Linked DNA regions of Homo sapiens: all the other regions are linked to region 3. The links are contacts of gene promoters, found by promoter capture Hi-C in blood cells and fetal thymus (Javierre and others, 2016). All regions are on one chromosome and are shown on one strand. Each heading gives the region's core, a stretch centred on a gene start or on the middle of the fragment in contact. The rest is flanking DNA. Distances are from core to core; before and after follow the strand shown.

Region 1 (3,295 bases), core at 768-3,267, 180 kb after region 3:
TTTGATACACAGTGCCAAACTAACTAGTTGCTTCTGCTACTTCCCTGTGTATGCTACCTGTACTCCAACCAAACTGGCCTCTGCCCAGTCCCTGAACACATGGTCTGCTCTGCCTCACACCGGTCTTCCGCTAGCAGTGCCTTCCCCATAACCTCTGGCTGTCAGCATTCCAGCTATTCCATAAGGTTCTTCTGAAGCGTCACCTCCAGAGGAAGCCTTTCTGACCTGGATGTCATCTCTTCTTCCTTCGATTTTCCATACCCCATTCAAACCTTCTTATAGAATTGTTTTCAGATTCTATGTTGGGTAATAGATGTACATGTTGTTAATTTCCCCAACCAAGCTGTAAATTTCTTAAGATCAGAAACTGTGTCTTTCAACACAGACGTGAGCCTGTGCCTTGCAATTGCTAGCCCACAACAAATACTTGTTGAACAGAAGTGAAATGAACTGAATATATATTATATTAAAAGAGTGTTAGAGTTTAATGAGATAAATAAACCATTATTGTAAGCATTATTATTAACTCTACATGATACCCAATTCTGAGTAATTCTACTCTAACACCTGATTAGAAGAAGCCTTCTCTGCTATGTACAGATTAGATTTAAAAAATTACACCAGAAACCCTAAGCTTAAACAGAAGGATCATAATAGAGTCTATATATATTACCCTCCTCTGAGGCTTAAGAGTCCTGGTTTGCAGTCTCAGATCTACCTTCAATTACCTAAATTGGGATGTGGCCCTGAGTGGCTCTTCTTGTTTGTTCTGTAAACTGACCTCCTGTGCCCCATCTGCGGATGGTGTTATGCTGTTGTCTGCAAGGACACTGTTAGATTATGAGGTCTTATGATGCCAAGTTCAGGTTTGGTTTGGTTTAGTTCTTAATATAGGTGGGAAAAGGTTTCAAAGGACATACAGTTGGCTTCTTTATCTGGTGTTTTCCTTCCGCAGGGTTTTTCTCCGTGCTATAAATCAGTTTGCTGAAGTTCTCACAAGATTCTTCATGGATCAGGCAAGCTTTGAACTTCAGGTAGGCATGTGACTCACCTACCTGCTTCTAGAATTCTTGGCCATGGCAAGAGAACTATATGAATTTGGAAAATGTCTCCTCAGATTTCACTGTTTTCACATGAAAAAGGTTTTCCTGTGTTTTTTCATTTCCTAAAGCACATATGCCTGTCACACTGTCCTCCAAACACAACAAAATAGGGGTGGTTTCTTCTTTCTATAAAGGTAACATATGTAAAAAAAAAATCTTAAAGAGTAATAGTAGAAGATCAAAAATATAAATAGTCCTCCTTGTCGCTATAAACATTTGGAGTTGACCCTTTGTATATTTACACAAATGCACATAGACACACATGGCTACAAATAAGCACACAGGTAACTCTCCTACCGACAAATGAGTTTGGTTCTAAAGAACAGTTCTTATGCACAGTTTGTTGAAAGTCCAAAGGAATTGCAAAACGGATGACCGCTAGCTCTATTTTCATTCATTCATTCATTTACTTATCCATTCATCCATTTAACAAATGTTAGAGTACTTACATGTACAGGGCCCTGTTTTGCGCCCTGGTAGGGGCATTTCCCTGGTGAAGGCAGATAAGTTCCTTGCTGTCATGGAGCTTACCTTCCAGAGTACTCTGCATTTTGTGGGTGATGTGCTTTCTGTGTTCTTTGTCTTTGCGTGTATCTGTGGAACTGTTATCAGTGGAGGTCCTTGACTACAGATTGTCCAAGTTCTTGACGTTTTGAACAAAATGCACAAACAAAGCAATGAAAGAATGAAGCAATAAAAGCCAGATTTATTGAAATGAAAGTATACTCCACAGAGTGGGAGCAGGCTCAAGCAAGTAGCTCAAGAGCACTGGTTACAGAATTTTCTGGCGTTTAAATACCCTGTAGAAGTTTTCCCATTGGTTACTTGGTTACACCCTATGTAAATGAAGGAGTAGCATGTGACCAGTCTGACCCTCCCACCAATTGTGGGAGGGGACTAATCAGAGGTACTTTCAATTTTTCATCTGCCACAGAGTGCAAAGGGGTAGCCTCTGATCCTTTTGTTACTTGGGTGTGGAGAGGTGGGGTTTTCCTTTTGATTCAGTTCTAGGAAGTCAGTGTGAATTGGCCTTCAGTGCCCTGCCTCCAGGCCCTGTTTTCCTGCCTCAGAACTTTAAAAGTTGAAAATCATAAGTAGAGGAAAGTATACACACATACACACACAGAGATGCATGCACATATAGATGAATATATATTGTATGTATGTGTATGTATATTTGCCAAAATGGAATTGAGCTGTGCAGTTCTTTGGTACTCTGTTAATCTGTTTTCCTTTTTCAATGATCTGTGATCTTTTCAATAATGTTGAATATTTTCCTGTTTTTAATGGCTGAATATCATCTGTTCTATGACTGGTCCATGATGTATTTAACCAAATTCTTCTTACGAACATTTAGATTGTTTCCATTTTCTATTATATTAAATAACACTGTGATGGACTTCCTTCCTTTAAATATTTAAAAATATTCGTGCTTGGCTGGGCACGGTGGCTCACGCCTATAGTCTCAGCACTTTGGGAGGCCAAGGCGGGCAGATCACCTGAGGTCAGGAGTTTAAGACCAGCCTGGCCAACATGGCGAAACTCCATCTCTACTAAAAATGCAAAAACTAGCTAGGCCTGGTAGTGGGTGCCTGTAATCCCAGATACTCGTCAGGATAAGGCAGGACGCTTGAACCTGGGAGGCGGAGGTTGCAGTGAGCCGAGATTGTACCACTGTACTCCAGCCTGGGCAACAGAGTGAGACTCTGGATCAAACAACAACAACAAAATTCATGGTTATTTCATCAGGATAAAGTCCTAAAAGTGTTTACTAATTCAAAAGTTTGGCAAACTTTTAGGACTTTTGAAACATAGTGCCAAAGTACATACTATAAATAGATACACTTCTTGGCAGCAGTTTTCCTTTATCCCAGGAGTAAAGAAAAATATAATAGCTTAAATTTTTTTAAAAAGCTTAACATTAAGTCTCAAAACTTTTAGGATTGAATAATCAAAACCTAAGAAGAATGTAGATTGTATTTTGTTCTTTCATTAATCTCTTGTTAATGACTTTTTACCATGTGACATTGTTTTATTATGGCCCTTATTAATGTTATTTTTCATTTCCCTTTACCCACACAATTAATTTTGAACAGCTCTGGAACAATTACTTCCATTTGGCAGTTGCATTTCTCACCCATGAGTCCCTTCAGCTTGAAACCTTCTCACAAGCCAAGCGCAACAAAATTGTT
Region 2 (3,095 bases), core at 60-2,559, 230 kb after region 3:
TTACAGATGTGAGCCACTGCCTGCCCCCAGCCCTCTATTTCACATTTGAAGAGTTTACTTCTTCTGAATAAAGGACAGTCATTCTGGAGTGACCTCAGATGGGTTTCCTTCAGTCATTTAACAAATGACTTTTAAGTGCCTCCTGTCTATACGCCAGGAACCCAAGTGTTGGGGATATGGCAGCGAGAGAGAGAGAGAAAATGTGTGTGTGTGTGTGTGTGTGTGTGTGTGTGTGCGCGCGCGCGCACGCACGCACGCACGCACGCGTGTGTCTGATTAGCTCATGGGAAACAAGGAGGATAAGTCAGTGTAGTTTTCCATTTCACTTTGCAAAGCCTGTGTAGATAAACTCAGATCAATTAGAAGCTAAAGCAGAATATGAGAAATAGGAGGAGAAGGCAGAATTGGGAAGAAAGCTAAGACCTGCTTCTAATTTTGTGTTTCTGCTTCTGCAGCTCGCTCCCCCACTGCCTGTCCGAAGAGAAGCCAAAGCACCACCCCCTCCACCTCCAAAGGCTCGGAAGTCTGGCATCCCTACTTCCGAGCCTGGATCCCAGTAAGGATCTTGCCCTCCCTGCAACACCGAGTGCCTTAGACAGCTGCTGCCTGAGAACTGGCCTCCAGCCGGTGTCCTCATTCCATGGGGCTCCCTGCTGACTGCATTTCCTGATCTGGGATGATGTTTACCAGCCCAAAACCAGTCATGTTCTTCCAAAAGCTTCTCTTTGATAGAATTTTGAGGCCATGCCACCTCCCTTCCAGTCCACATGGAATTCCAGAATCAGTCACAGCCTCTGATTTTTTCCAAGAAGAGATTGCCTTCACCATTGTTAAATGTCAGCCTGTACGGCAGAGACATGGTGGTCTGCACAAGCCTGGACAAGTTCTTCCATATTGATGGTGGAGCAACCCCTGTAATCTACTCCTTGGAAGGATTTTTTGCTTTGCTTATGAAAAGCTGTGCTTGAGACTTAGGTACTTTTCTCACGTGGACACACTGATCCCATCCCATATTGCATCTTGGAAGAGATGGATATCAAGTACACTTTGGTAGCTGAAATAATCATATCTTTCTGATGTCTATTGTATCTCCTTTGAGGAAAAGAACACACATTTTTAATGGAGATTGGCTGCTTTCAGGTATGTGTGTCTATCATTGAAAGAGCATGGACTCAAACATCAGCCCTGAGTTCTTGAGTCCACCCAACTCCCATCTTCTTGTGGCACAGGAAAGCTGCCCTCTCCCTCTCCCACCACACTCCTGACTAATGGCCTTCACTGCGTCGCAGTCACTCCTTCCCTACGGACTTCTTTGAAGCTCTTCCTTTTGCACATACGGCTTTTTTTTTTTTTTTTTTTTTTTGTCCTATTACCTCCTCTGAGCGCAAATCACTGGCTACAAGGGACTTACCAGTCTGGATTCAGCAGTTTCTTTTCTAAAACCCATTTGGGTGACTCAGCAGCCGCATCTGCTACCTGATTTTATCCTGGAGAATACAGTGCAATATTTCTCTTTGATTATTTATTCCTCTTGATTGTGGAATTAATTTGATTGCTTGCTAATGGTACTAGTAGTACTCCTTTCAGAAGAAAAAATGGAGCGATTTAGGTGACCAAATATTACATACATAAATAGCCACATGAAGTTTTAGACGTTTGGACTTGAAGCCTCAAAGATCAACCAACCAGTCCCCTTATTTAGTAAATAAGGAAATTGAGGCTACACACAGAAAATTGTGCTACAGATTATTACTAATAACCCAGCTTGCTAAATTAGGCTATACCTAGGTAATCTCTAGAAGACAACTCTGACAGACTCTTTAATATTTACCCCTGGTTGGAACAATATTTGAAATGTCCCAGATATTTCTATGCTACTTAGATATTTGTGGCAAAGCAGAAAGCTTTTTGACTGTGAAGGCAGAGGTCAGCACTGGGGGAAACTTGCTGGTGGTCTCTCCCACAACCTTGCCCAGAGTCCTTTCCACTAAGGAGGTGAAGAGAACAGAGAAAGAGATTTCCATTTCTGCTGCCAGAGCTGGTATTTGCCTGCCTGATTCTCTGTGTTTCCTGTTTCACCGCCACCCTTTCAGGAGAGAACTACACCAGTTCATCATGAGGGTCAGGGAAGCAAAAGCTCTCAGATGTGTCCAGGGCGTTACTTAAGAAATGAGTATGCAGATTCTGGAAGGGGTGTGGAAAAGGTGATCCTTTACCCCCACCCAGGAAAACCTGCATTGTGCTAGCATGGAAGAATCATGGGCTTTGGAATTAAACCCATTTGGTGGAATTAAACCCATTTGGTTTCAAATCCCAGTTATGACATCTGTTAACTTTGCAAACTCACAAAAATTATTTGAAATTATCTGAGTTTTCATTTTCTCACCTTCCAGAATGGGGATAATGCCTCCTGCATCGGTTGTTGTGAGGTTTCAATGAGATGAAATATGGGAAAGAAGAGGTACTCACCTGATGGTCCCTGCTTTCCTCTGCTAGGCCTGAGTAGGAACTGGAACTCTCTAAGAGCATTACTCATACTTTTTTTTTCTTCCAAGGTAGTTTGGAATGTGAGTGCAAGTTAGTTCTGCACATACAGCCCTTCTCCAAATGGTGGTTTCCTTTGAGGTCTTTTACATGATTATTTATGACTAGAGACAAACTTAATAAGAACTCAAGAGGATTTTAAATGGAGAGAACTCAAGCTGTAGAGAAAGGAGGAGGCAACAGACAGGATATGTAGGGGCTTACCTAGAGCCTGGCACGACTTCTGAGAAGTCACCCAGCAGACCGGCTAGAGGGGATTTGTGTGCCACACTCTACTTGCCGGGCTGCCATTAAAATAGAAAGATATAAAACTGGGTCACCAAAAAAACCAAACCTCAAGGCTATCCTTCCAGAGCAGTAGAAATGAGTCCCACAGCCTGGTCTTTGAGCAGAGGCTGGGAAGATAGGATACATCACTGTCTGGATACCTTCTCTTTTTAATAGAATATATTCCGTATGATTCCCTTTCCACCTTAATGGAAATAATAGCTCTCTCCTGCCTGAACAAAAGGGATTCCAGGTAGTATTGTGGCTAAGAGATTACAGCGGAC
Region 3 (3,278 bases), core at 74-2,573:
GCACGTCTGGCTAACTTTTGTATTTTAGTAGAGAAGGGGTTTCACCATGTTGGCCAGGCTGGTCTGGAACTCGTGACCTCAGGTGATCCACCCGCCTCGGCCTCCCAAAGTGCTGAGATTACAGGCATGAGCCACCACGCCTGGCCAACTACCTGTCTTTACTATCTTTACTACATGTTTGTCTTCCTTTCTTTTATATTCCTAAAACGCATGAAAACCTTCACAGGCTGCAAGGAGGATATAATTTCTCTCTAGAGGAATCTTCTTCGAAGGTGAACGTAATTAAGCTGGTCATTTACTCTACTTGCAATGTTACTTCTCGGTACAAGGTAGGGAGAAACCCCTGGATCTTCATTCTCCAAGTCTCTCCAGGAAGAAATGAATTCCAAGAGGGGAGCTCCAGAGAGGGCGCCACCTGGAGCCCAAGGCGGTTCAAATGCGCAGCCCCTTTGGGATCTTCGTCAAGAAAAGGCAGTCGTTGACGGAGAAAAGACGGGGATGCGCCTTGGCCCTTTCTCCACGGGAATGCTCTCTGGGCTGCTGGCTGGTTGGGAAAGGGAGGTCTGGGCATGAGGGTCTAAGTTTCTTCAGCTTAAGGTTGGGGGGTCCCCGGAGTTTGGGGATACAGGACTTCCAAATTAGGGCTTTCTAAACAATTTCCCTGCAGAGGATCCCCTAGCAAACGGTCTGATACTTCTGAGGAGCCCACCTCCCTTGCACCAGCTCTCCGGTGATAAAAGTTCTGCTTTCCAGGCTCTAAGCGGTGGCCCCGGGAGATTCAGTCTGCCCTGAGTCCGGCTTCTCCCGCTCGCGGCGCGGGTTCAAGCTCCAGGGGGTGAAGGCAGAAGTCAACTGCTCATTCATTCAACAAATATTTATTGCGCGCCCGCTTAGTGCCAGGCACCGGAGGTGCCCCGAGCAAGAAGCCGCTCTCGCTGATCCGTTTCCGCTCCCCAAGTGTCCGGCGCGCGCCGTGGGAGCGCAGCCCGCATCCCTCGCCCACCGGCCGCCCGGCCTGGGCGTGCCCGGCTCCTCCAGCGCAGCCCTCTGTCGGGAGCCGGACCCCCGGGACCCAGCCTCCGGGGTATCAGCCGGGTGGGGAGGGCGGGAGAAAGGCAAAGTGCCGCCAGCGTCAAAGTCCCGCCGGCCCAGGAAGCCGCTCCAGGGAAGCGCGCGAGGCGGAGCCGCAGTCGGCCCCCGCCCGGCAGAGCGCAGAGAGCGGCGCGGGCGGGAGAGGCCGGGCGCCCGCGGCTCGGAGGCGGCCCCGGCGGGCGGAGGGTGCGGCCGGCGGGAGGGACTGGGGCGGCGCCAGGAGGGGCGCGCACTGCTGCGCTGCAGCCCGGCCCAGCAGGTGACCGCGGGCGGCGCGGGCACGGGCACGGGCGCGGGCGGCGCGGCGAGGAGGCGGCCCGCGGAGTCCAGCGAAGTTTGGCGGAACATGGCGGAAGCGTCTGGGGCACGCAGGAGCGCGGGGCGGCGGCGGCCGGAGCCCGAGGAGCTGTAGCAGCCTTAGTCGCCGCCGCCGCGGGGCGAGGTCGCCGCCATGGCCCGCTGGATCCCGACCAAGAGGCAGAAGTACGGGGTTGGTGAGTGCGCGCCCCACCTTGTCCCGGCCCGACCCACGCGGCCAAGTTCGCGGACAGCGGCCCTGCCAGGTTTGCGCAGAGCCCGGCGGAGGACCCTGGCCGGGGGCTCGGCCCGGCTGCGCAGCTCTGGGAGCCGGGGACGGTAGGAGTCCTCTCCAGGGAGCGCCGATGGGGAAGTCGCCCAGGGTTTGGGGACTCCGAGTGCTTCCAAGTGCAGCTGAGCTTCGGGACCGTAATCCCGCTCTTGCATCCCAATCTCCGGCACTTCACACCAGGGAAATGTCAACGCGAGGGGGGCGCGCCTGCTGCTCTTTTGGGGCCGCAGCTCTGTGGCTCGCCCCGGTGCGCCCAGCGTGGGTTTCACCTGGGAGTAGGTGACCAGCCCGGGTCGGCACATGGACTGGTGCTCATTGTCCCAGTGCTTTCTGCCCCCCGCTTTCGTAGGTTCTTCTCAGACGCCCCTTAAGTGAGGAGTTGAGGGTGGAAAGCCGCCCTGCCCCCTTTCCTCCAGAGACTGGGATCTTGATGACAGTTGTGAGCTGGATGGAAACTAGAGTCGTGGCGTGGAAGTGATGGAAGGGACAGGAAGTTGTGGCACGGGAAGGGGGTGGCTGGCCCCTGGGGCTGTTTGTGCGCACTCATCCCCTAACGGAGCCTGTCTGGAGAGGGTGTAAGGCTGCCTTCCGGATCCTGAGTTTCATCCTGGAGACGAGAAGAGGACATTTTATTAAGGAAACTGTGCCAGACCCCGTGCTGGGCACTTGGCATTCAGAACAGCGGTGCTGGAGAGCCCCGGGTTGTGCGCAGGGGTTGCTGGTGGTGGTGCTTTGGCTCCGAAACAATAGATGTGCGGGGATTTTGACCCAGGTGGAAAGTCAGGCTCCTTTGGCTTTTTATCAAGGATTGAAGTTATTGAGGGCCTGTGGGAAGACTTCTGCCCTGAACGGGGTGATTACAATGGCAGTTAGACCTGGGGTGATTCCCTACAATAAACACGGCTGAGTGTGTTGCGAATTTTATCACTTCCTCTCAGATCCATTCATTTGGCCTGTTTGTAATTTAGTCTTTGACTTTACTCCCTTACTGAGGTCCTGTTTTTCCTCACCTCACTGGTTAATGAAGTGCAGTCTCAATTAAGAGCTACTCAACGTGTCTAGGGGCTTTTCAACTCTGTAGCCAGGAGTCAGGGTTTTTTGTTGTTGTTTGTTTTGTTTTTTAACAGTCTCATATTTACTATATTATTCTTAGGTTGTGATCCTTTATATATTTATTATTTTTTGTTTTCCCTCAATTCAAAAGACATTTTCTTTTTTGCTCTTAAGTTGCTTTTAGAATCTTAGTCTCTCCCTTAGCTGCATCTCAGAAATGGGTAGAGATGTTGCTTCTGCCTCAGGGCTCTTTTTTTTTTTTTTTTTGGTTTGTTTGTTTTTGAGACGGACTGACGAGGGAGTCTCACTCTGTCGCCCAGGCCGGAGTGCAGTGGCGCAATCTCGGCTCACTGCAAGCTCCACCTCTAGGTTCCAGCAATTCTCCTGTCTCAGCCCCCCTCCCCGAGTAGCTGGGATTACGGGCTTGCATCACTACACCTGACTAATTTTTGTATTTTTAGTAGAAACCAGGTTTCGCCATCTGGGCCAGGCTGGTCTCAAACTCCTGACCTCAGGTGATCCGCCTGCCTCGGCCTCCCAAAGT

Evidence for each region. Contacts are between HindIII fragments. The CHiCAGO score rates a contact against its expected background, and 5 or more counts as called.
Region 1: a fragment that was not itself captured here is called in contact with the fragment with the promoter of DOCK5 in region 3 in 1 of 17 cell types (neutrophils); the score reaches 6.3 in neutrophils.
Region 2: a fragment that was not itself captured here is called in contact with the fragment with the promoter of DOCK5 in region 3 in 1 of 17 cell types (neutrophils); the score reaches 7.8 in neutrophils.

Annotation. Positions count from the first base shown.
Region 1 is chr8:25,363,671-25,366,965 of GRCh38, forward strand. It overlaps DOCK5 (dedicator of cytokinesis 5), which reads left to right. Exons shown (of 52, transcript NM_024940.8): 30 at 956-1,034; 31 at 3,200-3,295. Among named protein-coding and RNA genes, the nearest start is that of MIR6876, 20 kb to the left of the region's middle. The HindIII fragment of the contact is 1,996 bases long and covers 1,020-3,015 here.
Region 2 is chr8:25,410,739-25,413,833 of GRCh38, forward strand. DOCK5 (dedicator of cytokinesis 5) reads left to right here. Exons shown (of 52, transcript NM_024940.8): 52 at 456-3,095. The coding sequence ends at 560. Among named protein-coding and RNA genes, the nearest start is that of GNRH1, 12 kb to the right of the region's middle. The HindIII fragment of the contact is 1,186 bases long and covers 717-1,902 here.
Region 3 is chr8:25,183,366-25,186,643 of GRCh38, forward strand. It overlaps DOCK5 (dedicator of cytokinesis 5), which reads left to right and starts at 1,324. Exons shown (of 52, transcript NM_024940.8): 1 at 1,324-1,586. The coding sequence starts at 1,544. LOC124901912 (a long non-coding RNA gene) reads right to left here and starts at 1,012. Exons shown (of 2, transcript XR_007060861.1): 1 at 1-1,012. RefSeq lists silencers at 1,142-1,221, 1,232-1,401, 1,572-1,621. The HindIII fragment of the contact is 10,671 bases long and covers 1-3,278 here.